Linked DNA regions of Homo sapiens: region 2 is linked to region 1. The links are contacts of gene promoters, found by promoter capture Hi-C in human tissues and cell types (Jung and others, 2019). All regions are on one chromosome and are shown on one strand. Each heading gives the region's core, a stretch centred on a gene start or on the middle of the fragment in contact. The rest is flanking DNA. Distances are from core to core; before and after follow the strand shown. Region 1 holds the start of SOX11 (SRY-box transcription factor 11). Region 2 overlaps LOC400940 (a long non-coding RNA gene).

Evidence for each region. The method cuts DNA at HindIII sites, captures the fragments that hold promoters and counts their contacts. A contact is called where the count stands out against the background at its distance.
Region 2: a contact is called between a fragment that was not itself captured here and the fragment with the promoter of SOX11 in region 1, in 1 of the 25 tissues and cell types used here (pancreas).

What each region holds. Positions count from the first base shown.
Region 1 is chr2:5,686,656-5,693,653 of GRCh38, reverse strand. It overlaps SOX11 (SRY-box transcription factor 11), which reads right to left and starts at 1,270. Exons shown (of 1, transcript NM_003108.4): 1 at 1-1,270. The coding sequence starts at 932. It overlaps LINC01248 (long intergenic non-protein coding RNA 1248), which reads left to right and starts at 2,536. Exons shown (of 5, transcript NR_110580.1): 1 at 2,536-2,679. It overlaps LOC124908052 (a long non-coding RNA gene), which reads left to right and starts at 2,691. Exons shown (of 2, transcript XR_007088653.1): 1 at 2,691-4,577; 2 at 5,899-6,026. The HindIII fragment of the contact is 8,038 bases long and covers 1-5,664 here.
Region 2 is chr2:5,984,012-5,990,887 of GRCh38, reverse strand. LOC400940 (a long non-coding RNA gene) reads right to left here. Exons shown (of 3, transcript NR_026833.1): 3 at 2,656-5,463. Among named protein-coding and RNA genes, the nearest start is that of MIR7158, 13 kb to the right of the region's middle. The HindIII fragment of the contact is 6,165 bases long and covers 1-4,413 here.

The DNA.
Region 1 (6,998 bases), core at 21-2,520:
AGGCGGCTGCCGCCCCCGGCGCCCGAGGTCGCGCCGGCCCGCACCTCGTCGTAGAGGCTCGCTCCCTCGGGGGACTCCGCCGAGCTGCTCAGCGTAGGGCTGGCGGGCACTTTGGCGACGTTGTAGCGTCTCAGCAGCTGCGACGGCTGCTGCCCCGGCGGCTGCAGGAGCTGCTGGTGCGGTGGTTCCTCGTCCTCCTCGTCCGGCTCCTGTTTGATCTGCAGCTGCAGCTCGTCGTCGTCGTCGTCGTCGTCGTCGTCCTCATCCAGAAACACGCACTTGACCGTCTTGCCCGCGCCGCCGCCGCCCGAGCCGCTCACGCGCAGGCTGCCCAGCACGTAGTCGTCGCCCGCGCCCCCGTAGTCCCCGGACTGGGCCGCCTTGCCCGCGCCCGCCTTGGCGCCCGCGGCCGCGGGGGCCTTGAGCTTGCCGCATTTCTTGCTGGAGCCCTTGGAGGTCTTGGCACCGCCCGCGCCTCCGCCCGCGCTCCCGCCGCCGCCGCCGGCCGCGCTCTTCTCTGGGCTCTGGCTGGCGCTGGGCTTGGCCGAGGGGTCCATTTTGGGCTTTTTCCGGGGCCGGTACTTGTAGTCGGGGTAGTCGGCCATGTGCTTGAGCCGCAGCCGCTCCGCCTCCCGGATGAACGGGATCTTCTCGCTGTCCTTCAGCATTTTCCAGCGCTTGCCCAGCCTCTTGGAGATCTCGGCGTTGTGCATGTCCGGAGACTGCTCCATGATCTTCCTGCGTTCGATCTTGGACCATACCATGAACGCGTTCATCGGCCGCTTGATGTGGCCCGACGCCGTCTTGCACCAGTCTGGGTCGCTCTCGTCCAGGGCCACCGGGCTGCAAGCCATGAATTCGCCCTCCTCCGTGTCCAGCGCCTCCCGGGGCAGGTTGCTCTCCGCTTCCAAGCTCTCCGCCTGCTGCACCATGATCCGCTGCAGGGCTGGACGCTCCAACCCGGGCCGCTGGGTCTCGTGCGGAGGTCCCCCTCCCCCTCCCACCCCTCCACCTTCCTGGGCAAGTTGCAAAGTCCTCGGCACCCCGCTTTCGCGGCTCCCCCCCTCCCCCCCGCCCCCCCTTCCAGGCTGCACACAGCGGCTGTGGTGGCTTCGGCGACGACGGCCGCCGGCGCGGTGGGAGCTGCGGTCGCGACAGGAGAGGCGGTGGCGACGGCGGTCGAGGCAGCCCGGGACCCCTCTCTCCGGCTCGTGGCTCCTACCGCAAGCGCCGGACCCCGAGCTCTCCCAGGCGCGCGCGCTCCTTCTGCAAAAAGTTGAGGTCTCTCTCTCAACTAGTTATCAGGGTGTCATATGGGTGACATCACTCCCCCAGCTAGCCAATGGCTGGGGGCCGGCTCCGCCCATCTTCCTTTATTAACTCGGAGGCCCCGCCCCTCCACCCCGCCCTCCGGGCTGCTTTGCAAAGATGGGGGTGGGGGGAGAGGAGGCATGTCTAGAAATATGTTATTTTTAAAAAATCCGCGTGTGTGCACAGATGCGCCTGTTCCCGGGATGCTCGGAAGCGGCGCGCGGCACCACGGGGAGCGGGCGGCCCGGGGCGAACCGGGATGGTTCGGGCGCCGGCGCTAACCGAGGACCGGGTCCCGGGAGAGGCCCCGCGCGCCTTTGTGCCCAGTCCCCGGGAGGCCCGACGGCGACAGCGGACGGCGCGCGCTCACTCCCCGGGTGCACACACTCGGGCACGCGCCCAGCCTGAGACGGCGGCCTCCGCCCGGCTCGCGGTCAGCCGCGCCCGGCCTGCCCCGGGGTGGGCGCAGCTGCTCCCCGGCGAGCCCCTCGCGGGGCTCGGCCGCTCCCCCGGGTCGCCGCCCCGAGCCCGCCCGGTAGCCCCGCGGCGGCCCTGGCCGACGGAAGGTGGCGCTTGAAGACAGCAACCTTCCCGGCACGTGGGCTCTGCTCTCCTTTTCCCTTTCTCCCTTTTTGTAAGGCAAAGAAATCAATTTAAAGCTCGAGAGGCGGTGAGCTCCCTCCCCCGTTTTGCATTTTTCTGTTTTGTCCTTTTTCTCCGTCTGTTTTCCCTCCTCGGTGGTGTTTGGGGACGCGGCTGTGCGGGTTGGGCTGCGCCGCGCCCCCGCGCGCCCCGCCCCGGGCGGGGGCCGGAGTAACGGTCTGCGGGGCCCTCGGGTTCAAGCTGGCCACTCCCAGGGCTGGCTCCGGAGCGGGCTCTGGGTCCCGCAGGCTCCAGCAAGCCCGCGCCCCGCCCGGCGTCCCTGCGAGGGGCCCGGCGCCCTCCTTCCCTTCTCCCTCTGCTCCCCGCCCCTCCTCTCCCCGCCCCGTCCTCTCCCCGCCCCTCCGCCGCTCCTTTCTCCTTCCCAGGCCTCCTCTTCCTCTTTGTCCTTCCCCCATCCTCGGTCGCCAGCGCTTCTCCGGCAGCCTCGTCCTGAAATCGTGCGATTGTGAGCTAGAAGCCTTCTGGGTCACTCATAAACCAAAGAGAAAATAAGGTGCACTCGAGTTTCCCGTCTAAATATTTTCCCTGGAGATGGAAAGGTGCGCTGGCGGCCGGGGAGCCGCGACCTGGGGCGCGCTGGGCCTCGCAGAGCAGCCGCGGACCCCGGCGATCGTGCCGTGTTCGTCTCCTTTGTGTTTCTTTATTGAGTCCCTACTACCTCTACGGATATTCTGGGGGCAATTAAAGAAAATCACCGCTTCATAGGTATGGTCTGTCGCCACCCTCGCCTTCTCCACACCCCCCAGCACTGGGTATCTGGGAACTTTGAGCAGTTCCTAAGACACTGCCCGGATCCCTTCACCAGAGAAATCAGCCGTGTAGGACTGGGAAAATTATCCGAATCTGCTTCCTTTCAGGTGCCCTCCTGCAATTAATACTACATTTCTTAAGTATTGGATCTTCTCTGAGGATTCTAATATCATAAAATAATACCGTGTTTTACACAGATCATGATTTGAAAAAATTACCGCCATTGCGATAAGCCATTCCCGCCCCCGTCCCCCACTTCCCCGACTCATCCTAAAGAAAAACACTGCATCGAATACTTGGAATATTCAGACCAACTTAAATCTTGATAATGCTGGCAATTTATTCTTTCCAGGGCCATAGGAACCAAAAGAATTTACAGTCATTCATACTGGGTGACTTAAAGTCTGGAGATGTATAAAATCCAAGGCAGTGTGTGAAAACTCATCTTCACTCCCGCACGGCGAGCACTAGGTCTTGTTTTTCTCTTACAGCTCACACGTTTTTCAGCTATTGGGAACACCACCGGAGGGAGGGTGGGGTGGAGCACAAGGTGAACCTACACCCACCTCCCCACAACTGCAGGACAAATCCACACTCTAGAGAAAAGGATTGAAATATTTCAGCTCAGCTTCATTATTTGCTTGCAAAGTGTGAGGGCACCTACCATTTGGGCCTCGGAAAGAGAATGCATTTGAAAATCTTTGGCAAATTCCATATTGATTTGCTATCTTTACGCTATAGCAAAAATCATGCTTAGCTTTAAAATGAGAATGATCTGAATATAGTAGGAGTGAAAAATAATAGATTTTATTCTCATAGCGCTGCGATCTTTTTAGAGGAAATAAAAGTTAAAATCTGCTCTTTCGAACAAGAAATATAATTTCTGTTCAAGGCAACATGAGCCGTTTGTTGGAGAAGATAAAGCAAAGATTGGGATTGCTAAAGCAGGCACTGAAGGCGGCACAGGCGGGTGCTACAGCTGAATCCCCCCTGTCATGTAGGAGAGGCCAGGCAATTTTCACAAGAGATTAACTAGATTGCTATTTTGTAGCATGGACTCACCCCACATACTTAATGTTGTTAGACGTAGTCGAGTGAGGAATGAAAAAAATGATAATCTGTATACTTTATTTTTGCTCCCTAAGGGAAAATTTTTAAATAAGTATAGCATTTAAAAAAAAATATGGGAACATGTTTGAGAGTACGCATGCTTCTTACAGGAATAATAGTTACTTCTGAAAACAGATGTTTGCGCCATTAACAGTAACCAACTATTTAGAGAAATTTTAGGCTACCAAATAGAAAATATAGCCTTTAATAATGCACCTCTTGAAAACCTAATTTAGTAAAATGGAAATAGGTCTACTGTTTTTTAAGCCACTGAATGTATATCATAATTAGGATCATTGGTTATCTTTTTAGAGCCAATATTCACTCATTTTTGTGTGTGTCTGTCTATATACTTATTTATAAGCAAGATATGTAGTTTGTTTGTTAACCATAAACATTGTTGGATACATAATGTTCAGAATCTTAAGAGTCACATCTGATTAGAGGCACAAATGACTATTTTTATGGTGATTTTTACCTTTTCATAATTCCATCTTTACAAAGAAAATGTCACGTAAAAGGACTATTACATAAAGAGATGAGATATTTCACGATATCTCTCAAAATTATAACACAGCCAGAGTAAGAAGTGTCCCTTTTTCTTAGGAAAGAAGCATTTTTCTAAGCAAATAATATGCTAAAAATATCACTGGGTAAATATTTGACTTATCTGATGGATTGACCACCATTTTTAGAAGTATTGCAACCACATGCATTCCCCATCTCTGAAATGAAGTTATAAGGTAGGATCCTTTCCTTTTTTCTCCCTTTACCTATTCTCCTGAAATGAGTTCACTCCTTATTGTTAGCTGTATCTATTTATCTCAGCTTCAGCCTTAAATCTTGAATTTGGATCTGGTTATATTCTGTCTACTGGACATTCCTTCTTATTCCTTCTTAAGTGTTCCTCAGACCTGGTAATGAGTATAGATCGAACAATCCTACCTTGAAAACACACACACACACACACACACACACACACACAATGAACCAGTGGATGCTGTTACCCTGTTTGGCTCATCAGAACATGTTTCAATAGCTAAAATAATGTTGTTAAGCTTTTCACTCATTTATTCTCTGAATTGACCACTGCAGAGTGTGATCCATGAAAGCCAGAGCAGTTGGGCAGTACAGCACAGGGCAGCGGCTTGGAAATTTATTTTGATCATGACCTATTTTATAAAACACCTTTTTACATCATGACCCAGTACTCATGCTATACACATATAAAGCAGAAACCAAAGCGTCAAAAATCAGTATCTCTCTTTTATGTGCAATTCATACTCTTTTTTATTCTATTCCATTCCATTCCATTTCTGTAAATGCTAGTTAAAACCCACTATTAATGAGGCACCACTGAAGTTTGAAAAACACTGGCTTAGGTGTTCAGAGTTACGGCTCAGAAGCGTTCTGCCCTGGATTGAAAATTCTGGTTCCACTATCTTTTCTTTTTCCCGCGTGGCTCTCATCATGGAGCGCTTGACTTTTAGTTATCAATGCCCAGATAATTCCACAAACGTACTGCCTCCAAAATTCACGTCTTTTGAAATTATTCATATGAGATATGTATTCTATTTTTTTAAATAGACTTTATTTTCTAGAGCAGTTTGAGGTTCACAGCAAACATGAATGGAAAATGCAGAGCCTTCCACATAGTGTCTATCCCCACACATACACAACCACCCCCACTCGGTGGTACATGTGTTACGATCAGTGCATCCACAATGACACATCATAATCATCCAACATGCGTAGTCCACATTAGGCTCACTCTTGGTGTTGTACATTCTGTGGATTTGGATAAATGTATAATGGCAGGTATCCATCATTATAGTGTCATGCAGATTATTTTCATGGCCCTAATCATCTGGCCTCCACCCACCTATTCATCCTTCACCCCTCCAAGCCCTTGGCAACAACTGATTATTTTACTATGGCAATAGTTTTGCCTTTTCCAGAATGTCAAATATATGGAATCATACAGTATGTAGCTTTTTCAGATTGGCTTCCTTAACTTAACAATATGCATTTTATGTTCTTCCATGTCTTTTTATGACTTCATAGCTCATTTCTTTTTGGCAATACATAACATTCCATTGTCTGAGTATACCACAGTTTATCCATCCTCCTACAGAAGGACATCATGGCTGCTTCCATGTTTTGGCAATGATGAATAAAATCTGTTACAAGCATCCTTGTGCAGCTTTGTGTGTAGATGTAAGTGTTCAACTTGCTTGGGTAAATATCAAAGAGTGATACTGCTCTATCGTGTGGTAAGAGGTTGTATAATTTCATAAGAAACTTTCAAACTGTCTTCCAAAGTGGCTGTCCCATTTTGCATTCCCAACAGCAACGAATGAGAGTTTCTACTATTCTACATCTTCGTCAGAATTTGCTGTTGTCACTATTTTAGATTGTAGCCATTCTACTCGGTCTGAAGTGCTATCTCATTTTTGTTGTAATTTACATTTCCCTAGGCATATGAGATGGACTGTCTTTCCAAATATTTACTTGCCCTCAGTATATCTTCTTTAGTGATATATCTCTTCAGGTTTTTGGCCCATTTTTTTTAAATCAGGTTTTTCATGTGCTTATTGTGAAGCTTTAAGACTTCTTTGTATATTTTGGGTAACAGTCTTTTATCAGACATGTCTTTTGCAAATAACTTCCCCTAGTCTGTGGCTTGTTTTCTCATTTTCTTGATAGTGTCTTTTACACAAGTTATTTAACTTATCCTGTGCCTTCGTTTTCCAGTCTATAAAATAGGATACCAGTAACCATTCCATCATGTGCGTGCACGCGCACACACACACACACACTCATGTGTGCAGAGACACAGTCCAGGTCCTGCTTGATTTGTTAGAATTGCTATAATGATTAAATACATATGAAGTGCTTAGAACAGTGCTGCGCACAGTAGAACGTTTACAAATGTAGTCTTTATTATTTTAATATTTCTTCTTCTGTGCCTGAAAGGGTTCCTGGCATACCGTAACTATTGTGTAAGTTATGAAGGGATTTTCATATTTGCTCACATACCCCAGTAAGCTCAGTCAATTCTCCTACCCGAGTCACTCCTGAGTTCACTTCCTCCTGCATGTTTTGACCATCAGTGTGTATGTTTCAGTTTTCCTCTGGGCTTTACACATTTTTTAGTAATGGAC
Region 2 (6,876 bases), core at 82-2,581, 300 kb before region 1:
TTCAGGAATCCCCTGACACTCCAAGAATTCTGCCCAGACCTACTCAGGCACCATCAGTAGAGATGAGAATGGATACAATTTTCAAAAAGCCTTCCAGGCAATCCTTTTCCACTCAGGTTTGATAAACATTGCATGCTATCATGCTGTTTTTGTATGTATGACTTAAATCAGCTCTTTTTAACTAGAGATTTTATGTGAGGGTAGTCAAATCCCCTGGAGAATATCAACTACAATCCATTATTTTGTTCAAGTTGCAGAAAACAATAGTATGTGGAAGACCCGGGTGGTCAGAGTGAGGCTGGTCTTGTATGGATTGATGGAGATTGATGGGGCACTGAGGAATTTATGGGGAGAGGAGGCTTCTTTTTGAGGTTGCCACTCATCTCTACCAAGAATTTGTTTCCATGCTTGCCATTTTCTCATGCCTTTGAATTTTTACGTAATCTGGTAGTCTGGAGTACTTCAGATCTGAGCCAAGAAAGGATGGTGGGGGTAGGTGGCCAGAGAATGAAACAGAGGTGACACGTGTTTGAGGAAAGTGGATGCGGGAAAGAGAGAGACCAGAGGAGGGAGGCAGAGCTTCCACAGGATGACTCTAGTCCAGAGAATCAGAGGGTGAATCGCTACCTTGAAAAATTTCTTGCTCTGTCTGAATCTTCATCTCCTCATTTGTGGAATGGGGATAAAAAACACTGCCTTGAAGAAGAAAATGAATGGAATGTGCTTTGAGGAGAATGGGGTAATGATGCTGATTGTGTCCTTGGAGCAAATAGGAACACAGCATGGTAGTGATGACGGCAAGGATGCCATTTCCCCTGGCTCAGACCAGTTAGGGAAAGGAGAGGTTGCAGGGGGCTTTATCTGAGGCCTTGCGATATTAGTCACACAGAAGCTCCCCAGAACCATCTCCATGTTCAGCACTGCCCACCTACCTCATTCTACTCTGAGCCTGCACCAAGCTACACATGAGAAAGGGTCAGACATCCCGAGTTCAAGGCAAGTGAGAGGGCTTGTGATAAGCCCCTTACTTGCACTTACAAGACCAAACTGCCTGAAGCATGGGGCATATCACCTGCAGCATACAGCGCACAGCACTACAAGAGGCCTTGAAAATGTACTTTGCCAAGCCTGGGAGAGGAAAGGCATTCCTAGTGGAGGGACATGTGCAAAGATGAAAAGGCCTGAAGGCAGCCTCTTGGGGATGGGCCATGAGTGTTGAAGAGAGGGGAATAGCGACTAGGAATCTGCACAGGTGCATGGAGTGGTTGACAGCACATTTGCAAAGCCTCGAGTGCCCTGCTAAGAAGCTTATTTTATATGTGCTGGAAAATAAGAGCTTTATATATGAAAAACAAGTCTAGGGGCAGAGTGGAAGACAGACTGGAGAGTAAGGGGGTACCTGGATATAAGAAACCCATTAGGTGCATTAGAAATCACATTGGCAAGAATTGATGAATACCTAAACTTGGGCAATGGCGGTGCATGAGAGGAAAGGGGGATTCCAGAAATGTTTCAGCAGAAGAAGAAGCAGATTCAGTAAACAGATTAAGGGAATTTAGGGTCTGTGTTTGTGTGTGTGTGTGTAGGGACTGGATCGCCAGTTTGGGCTAATTGTGAGAATGCCATAGATTACACATAGGTAATTTGGAGAAGACGCAGGATGTGAAGGACAGATCAGAAGTAGAGCAAGCAAGGACACTTACTTTATTTGGATGGTTGGAGGTCGTGATGCCTGCAGAATGGGACAGAGCTGACCAGCAGGCTTTGAAACTGTCCAGGATTCAACAGAGAGGGATGAGCTCCCTAACAGTGTTTTACAAACACCAGAAGACAATTGGAAATTCAAGTCTTAGGTGTTGTGATGGTTTAGTTGATGTGACTGGTCTTAGGGATGCCCAGATACCTGGTAAAACTTTCCTACTGAGCATACCTGTGAAGGTCCTTCTGGAAGAGTTTGGCATTTGATTCAGTAAGCTGAGCAAAGAAGATCACCCTCACCAATGTGGATGGGCACCATGCAATCTGTTAAGTGCTTGAATAGAACAAAAAGGTAGAGGATGGGTGAATTTCCTCTCTGCTTGACCTGAGACATCCATCTTCATCTGTCCTTGCATGTCAGTGATCCTGGTTCTCAGGCCTTTGGGCCTGGACTGGAACACCACCACCAGCTTTGCTGGGCCTCTAGCTCTCAGGTGGCAGACGGTGGGACTTCTCTGTCTCCACCATTACTTGAGCCAATCTCTCATCATAAATATCTTTCTGCATATTCCTATATATGCTATTGGTCCTGTTTCTCTGGAAAACTCTAATACAGGTGTCAATGAGATATCCAGGAAAAGGGAGAGCCTTAGGGGAAGTAATGCAATTGGAAGAATTGTGAAACATGGCCAGTCTTAAGAAGCAGACAACCAGTGAGCATGATTAAAAAGCTACTCTAAGAAGAAACACCTACAGGGGAAAGAGGAAAGGCAGAAGACATAGAGGGGATAAGTGTCTGGGTGTGTTGTGCTCGCCCTTCTAACCACTACTCAGCCCTGGGAATGGAGAAGGGATGGGGAAGACTTGGCATATTCCAGCTCTGACCTAATGCTTAGGCCAGTCCTGTGTCATGAGGCCCAACCTGATGCAAACCGGAGAAACAGCCACAAATCAGCAAGATTGAGTGCTTTTCCTACAGAGAAAATTCTGCTAGGACCCTACAAAATGGGTTGTGTGTCTGTGCATTGGGGCATGCAGTGTGCACATGTGTGTCCCTACGAAATGGGTTGTGCGTGTGTGCACTGGGGCATGCAGTGTGCACATGTGTGTCCCTACGAAATGGGTTGTGCGTGTGTGCACTGGGGCATGCAGTGTGCACGTGTGTCCCTATGAAATGGGTTGTGTGTGTGTGCACTGGGGCATGCAGTGTGCACATGTGTGTCCCTACGAAATGGGTTGTGCGTGTGTGCACTGGGGCATGCAGTGTGCACATGTGTGTCCCTACGAAATGGGTTCTGCGTGTGTGCACTGGGACATGCACAGTGTGCACATGTGTGTGCACACGTCTGTTTAGTTTGTGAAATTGAATCCCTGACTTCAAACCTTGTTTTATCATGGAATTGAACAGATTTCTGCCCAGAGATAAACAGGTCCTGCCTGGATGTTTGATGCTTTTGTCTCTACCTATTCATCACCTCTGTTTCAAGGAATGGTATGCGCCATTTGAAAAATCAGATCTTTCTTAACAGATCTTTGTTTGTTTGTTTGCTTTTTCCAGCCACCAGATTAGTTTACACTCTGGGAGAAGGTAGATACATTTTGTTATCTGAAAAAGAGAGATAATGATCAGCTCGCAGTCTCCAAAATAGTTAACAAATGACCGTAACTGTACACAATTTATTTGAAATGCTAAAAATCATCAGGGTTTTTCAATGAGCATTTTTTTTTCTGAATACCTTCAACTGAATCATATTTTTGCTTTTAAGAATGGATTTTCAAAATGGAATTATGTGTGTCTCTGCTTTTCTTTAGGCAGTGGTGATAAATCTGTGCCTGCGAGTCTTTTATCTGAATAATTAAAATGATGTAATAAAAACGACCTCTCAGCCCCATAGACCCAGTGAGCTTTGGGTTGATAATGGAATAATCAAATAATCAGAGAACAAGGCCATTCATAGAGTTCCCGAGGAAGCGAGACCAGTGCACGGTGAAAGGTGATGTCAGGGACGATGTGGGGAGACAGAGGCAGAGGGAATCACAGCCCCCAGCACCAAGTGCAAGGTAGGACCAGAGATCATGTGTGTGACAAGGAGTCATGCATGGTGGGTGGGGAGAGGCATAGGGGAAGTGGTTGCAGAGAGAAGACCAGGCTTGGAGGAGCAGGTGTCTAATGGGGGAACGCATCAGGGGGCAGTTTCTTGGAGGGGGAGAACCACTTCACACTGTTTGCTCCATTTATAGCATCTCAGAGCATGGAGTCATTTTTCAAGCAAAGTAGCTGAGACAAGGATCTCTGACTTGCACTTTCTTTGTACGCCTGCACAAATTCTTAATGACCTTAGCTTCCCTATTCATAACATGGGCCACTTCTTCAACGGGGCACAAGGGCACTAAGGGATGGGTCGCTGGGAATCAGCCACTGTAGTTTGGATAATTTGAGCCACGGCAGGCACCAGAGGAACCTGGGCCAGGCTGGTTTCACCGCAGCCTCCCTTAGTTTTGGAGACAGCAGACACGGGTGGGAGAGGGAGACAGCACAATCAGTCCTCTCCCTGAAGGCACAGAAACATCTGTGAAGAGGACAGGGGACAGGCCCTCAAGCAAGGCCCCACACAGTTCTGGCAATAACATGGATTCCAAGGTGGTAGATGACGGCACGGGCTCACGCCCATGCGAATGGGACCAATTGGCAGAATGGAATAAGCACAGAACCACCCAAAATAACAACCACTGCAGTAACACCAAACAGAACTGGGTTGTTCAGAAAATGACAGAAGCCCATGTTACCACCATTAATTGTTTGTTACATGCTGCTGCAGAAAATAAAATTATTTTGGTAGAGGGAAATATTGTGTGTCCCAGCTTTCAGACACAGATGCAGTTTGGCGACAAAATAGAGATTAGGTCAATAAAGGGCCCTCTGGTCTTCATGCCTTGTGTCCAGGGCTGGCCGTGTGCCTGATATTCTTAGAATGAATGCTATGGATGACCTTCTTCCTTTGATAAATGAAATTGCTTGGCTCACACACTTTTTAATGTGGTTTTTATAGAGTCTTTCAGAGGAAAGGAGAAAGAGAAAGCGCGAGCGAGTCTGTGGCTGCCTTTCTTGAAAAATCACTGTGGGCCACAGCGGAACTCTGAAAGTGACAGTGTGAAGTCATTCTTGTGCTTGCCGTTTTGGATGGCAGATGGGAAGCAGGTGCGTTTCTGCAGGATGAGCTGAAGAAGAGGGGCTTAATTAAAGAACACGCTCACGGCATCCAAAAGATCTTGAATTGCCACCGTGTGGGCCTGCCTTTCCCCTTCCCCAGAATCTTTTTAACTCTTTTCATGGTGGGTCATTGTCCTCCCTGCAGCCCAAAGCAATGAGGCCGGGGCTATTATTTTCCTTGTGGACAAATGGCTCTGCAGAGCTGGCTGCCGGGCCAATGGAGCCTTCTGTGGCCACTGTGCAATTGAAATGGTTCTCAGAGAAGGGGCCTCAGCTGCTGCCTGTCTCTAATTGTTGCTGGGACCCAGCCTTCTGGTCAGCTCTGGTCCCTGCCGCTGCTGTCTACACCGACTGTTTTTCCTCCCGGCTTCCAGAGATGAGGCTTCCTTTTGTTCCTCACAGTATTGCACTTTCACGTCCCCTGCAAATGCGGGAGTTGATCTCTTTTCCGTTGTGCGAAGTCTCTGGGGGCCTCTGTTGCTCTGCTCACTACTGTCCGAAGGTGAGCTTCTTGCCACTCCTCTCCAGCCTGCCTGTGTGGGTTGCCTCATGAGCTGTGATTCAAAAGATGACAAGGAGGCACTGGAAGGAGCCCCGGAGGCCCTGGGGTCTACCGTCTGGTTGTAGGGACAGGAACATTTGAGGTCAGGAGGGGAGAGACTTTGCAGGATAATTCTGGGGCAAATCCAGGCATACGCCAAAGAATGCTGATTCCCAGTGCCTGAAAGGGGGGAAGGTTTTCGCAGCTTCCAGGAGAGGCGCCTGGTGGTAAGGAAGGGTGGGCCCACCACACTGGGACTGGGAGCCACCCCGAGGGAGAAAGTGCTGCAGTCAGACCTGCTGCTAGAGCCTGGGTCTGGGCCACATTGCCTCCAAGAACAGGATGACTCCTACCTGGCTGGCCTCTAGACCAAGTGAACTAGAAACAGGAGAAGCGCCCCTGCATCCAGTGAGCAGTGTTTCTGGAGGGCGTTGGTAGGGAGGAAGGTGGAGGTTCCAACTCACACTTTCCTCCAGGACCTGACCATCACAGAAGCTCCTACCAATGTAGCTTCCATATTTCACTGCCTAATTCTGGATTATTGATGAAAGCAAAACAAACATTATTTATTAAGCAACTGTTTACAACTGAGACCCAGGGAAGTGACATAATCTAAGATTACGTAACTAATTAGTGGCGGAGGTAACACCCTGTTATATCATCTCCTTATTTTAAAACAATTGCAAAGCATTGCAAACATTTCAAATAAGCACATCTCTGGCATTTTATGACCTTTTTATGCTTAATTCAAAAGAATGTACTTGCTTTAAATAAACATTAAGGACATGAAATACATTGATATATACACAAAAGACTGTTTATAATTCTTATGTATTAAGCTCCCATTGTGTGCTATGTGTTTTTTTATTTTCCTGCATAAGCAGCATTCTCTGCTGCAACCCAGCAAGGTAGGCATTATTGCCCCTGTTCTGCAGCTGAAGAAGCTCTCACTAAGAAGGATGAAAGCAGAAAGGCTGGGAAAAGATCCCCCACAAAGCAAATAAAGACATGGGAAGGAACACCCAGATCTGCCTGGCTTCAAAGCCAGTGGTAGTAACTTCCCTAGTGTGAACGAGCTCATCCAGGGATAAGGTTTATTTAGGAACAAAAGAGAAATCCCACCGAATCATTCCTACAGATTTTTCTTTCTTAGTCTAAGGAGTGATAGGAAAAACCGTAAAGAATGGGAAACGGTCAAGCAGAATTGGCAAGTGTTCTTGAGTCAAGACCCCTCATGAAAAGGATAAGCCATTCTCTCTGCCCAAATGTGATTCCTGTAGCTGGGTCCCAGTCAGCACGTTTTCCACTGAAATGCTGAGGAGGGGAGGGGCTCTTCCTGGGGTAGCTGTACACAGCCGTGGTGGCCAGCCTAATTCAAGTTGCACAGCGTGGACATACACACTCTCACGCTGGTGACTCCCAGGCT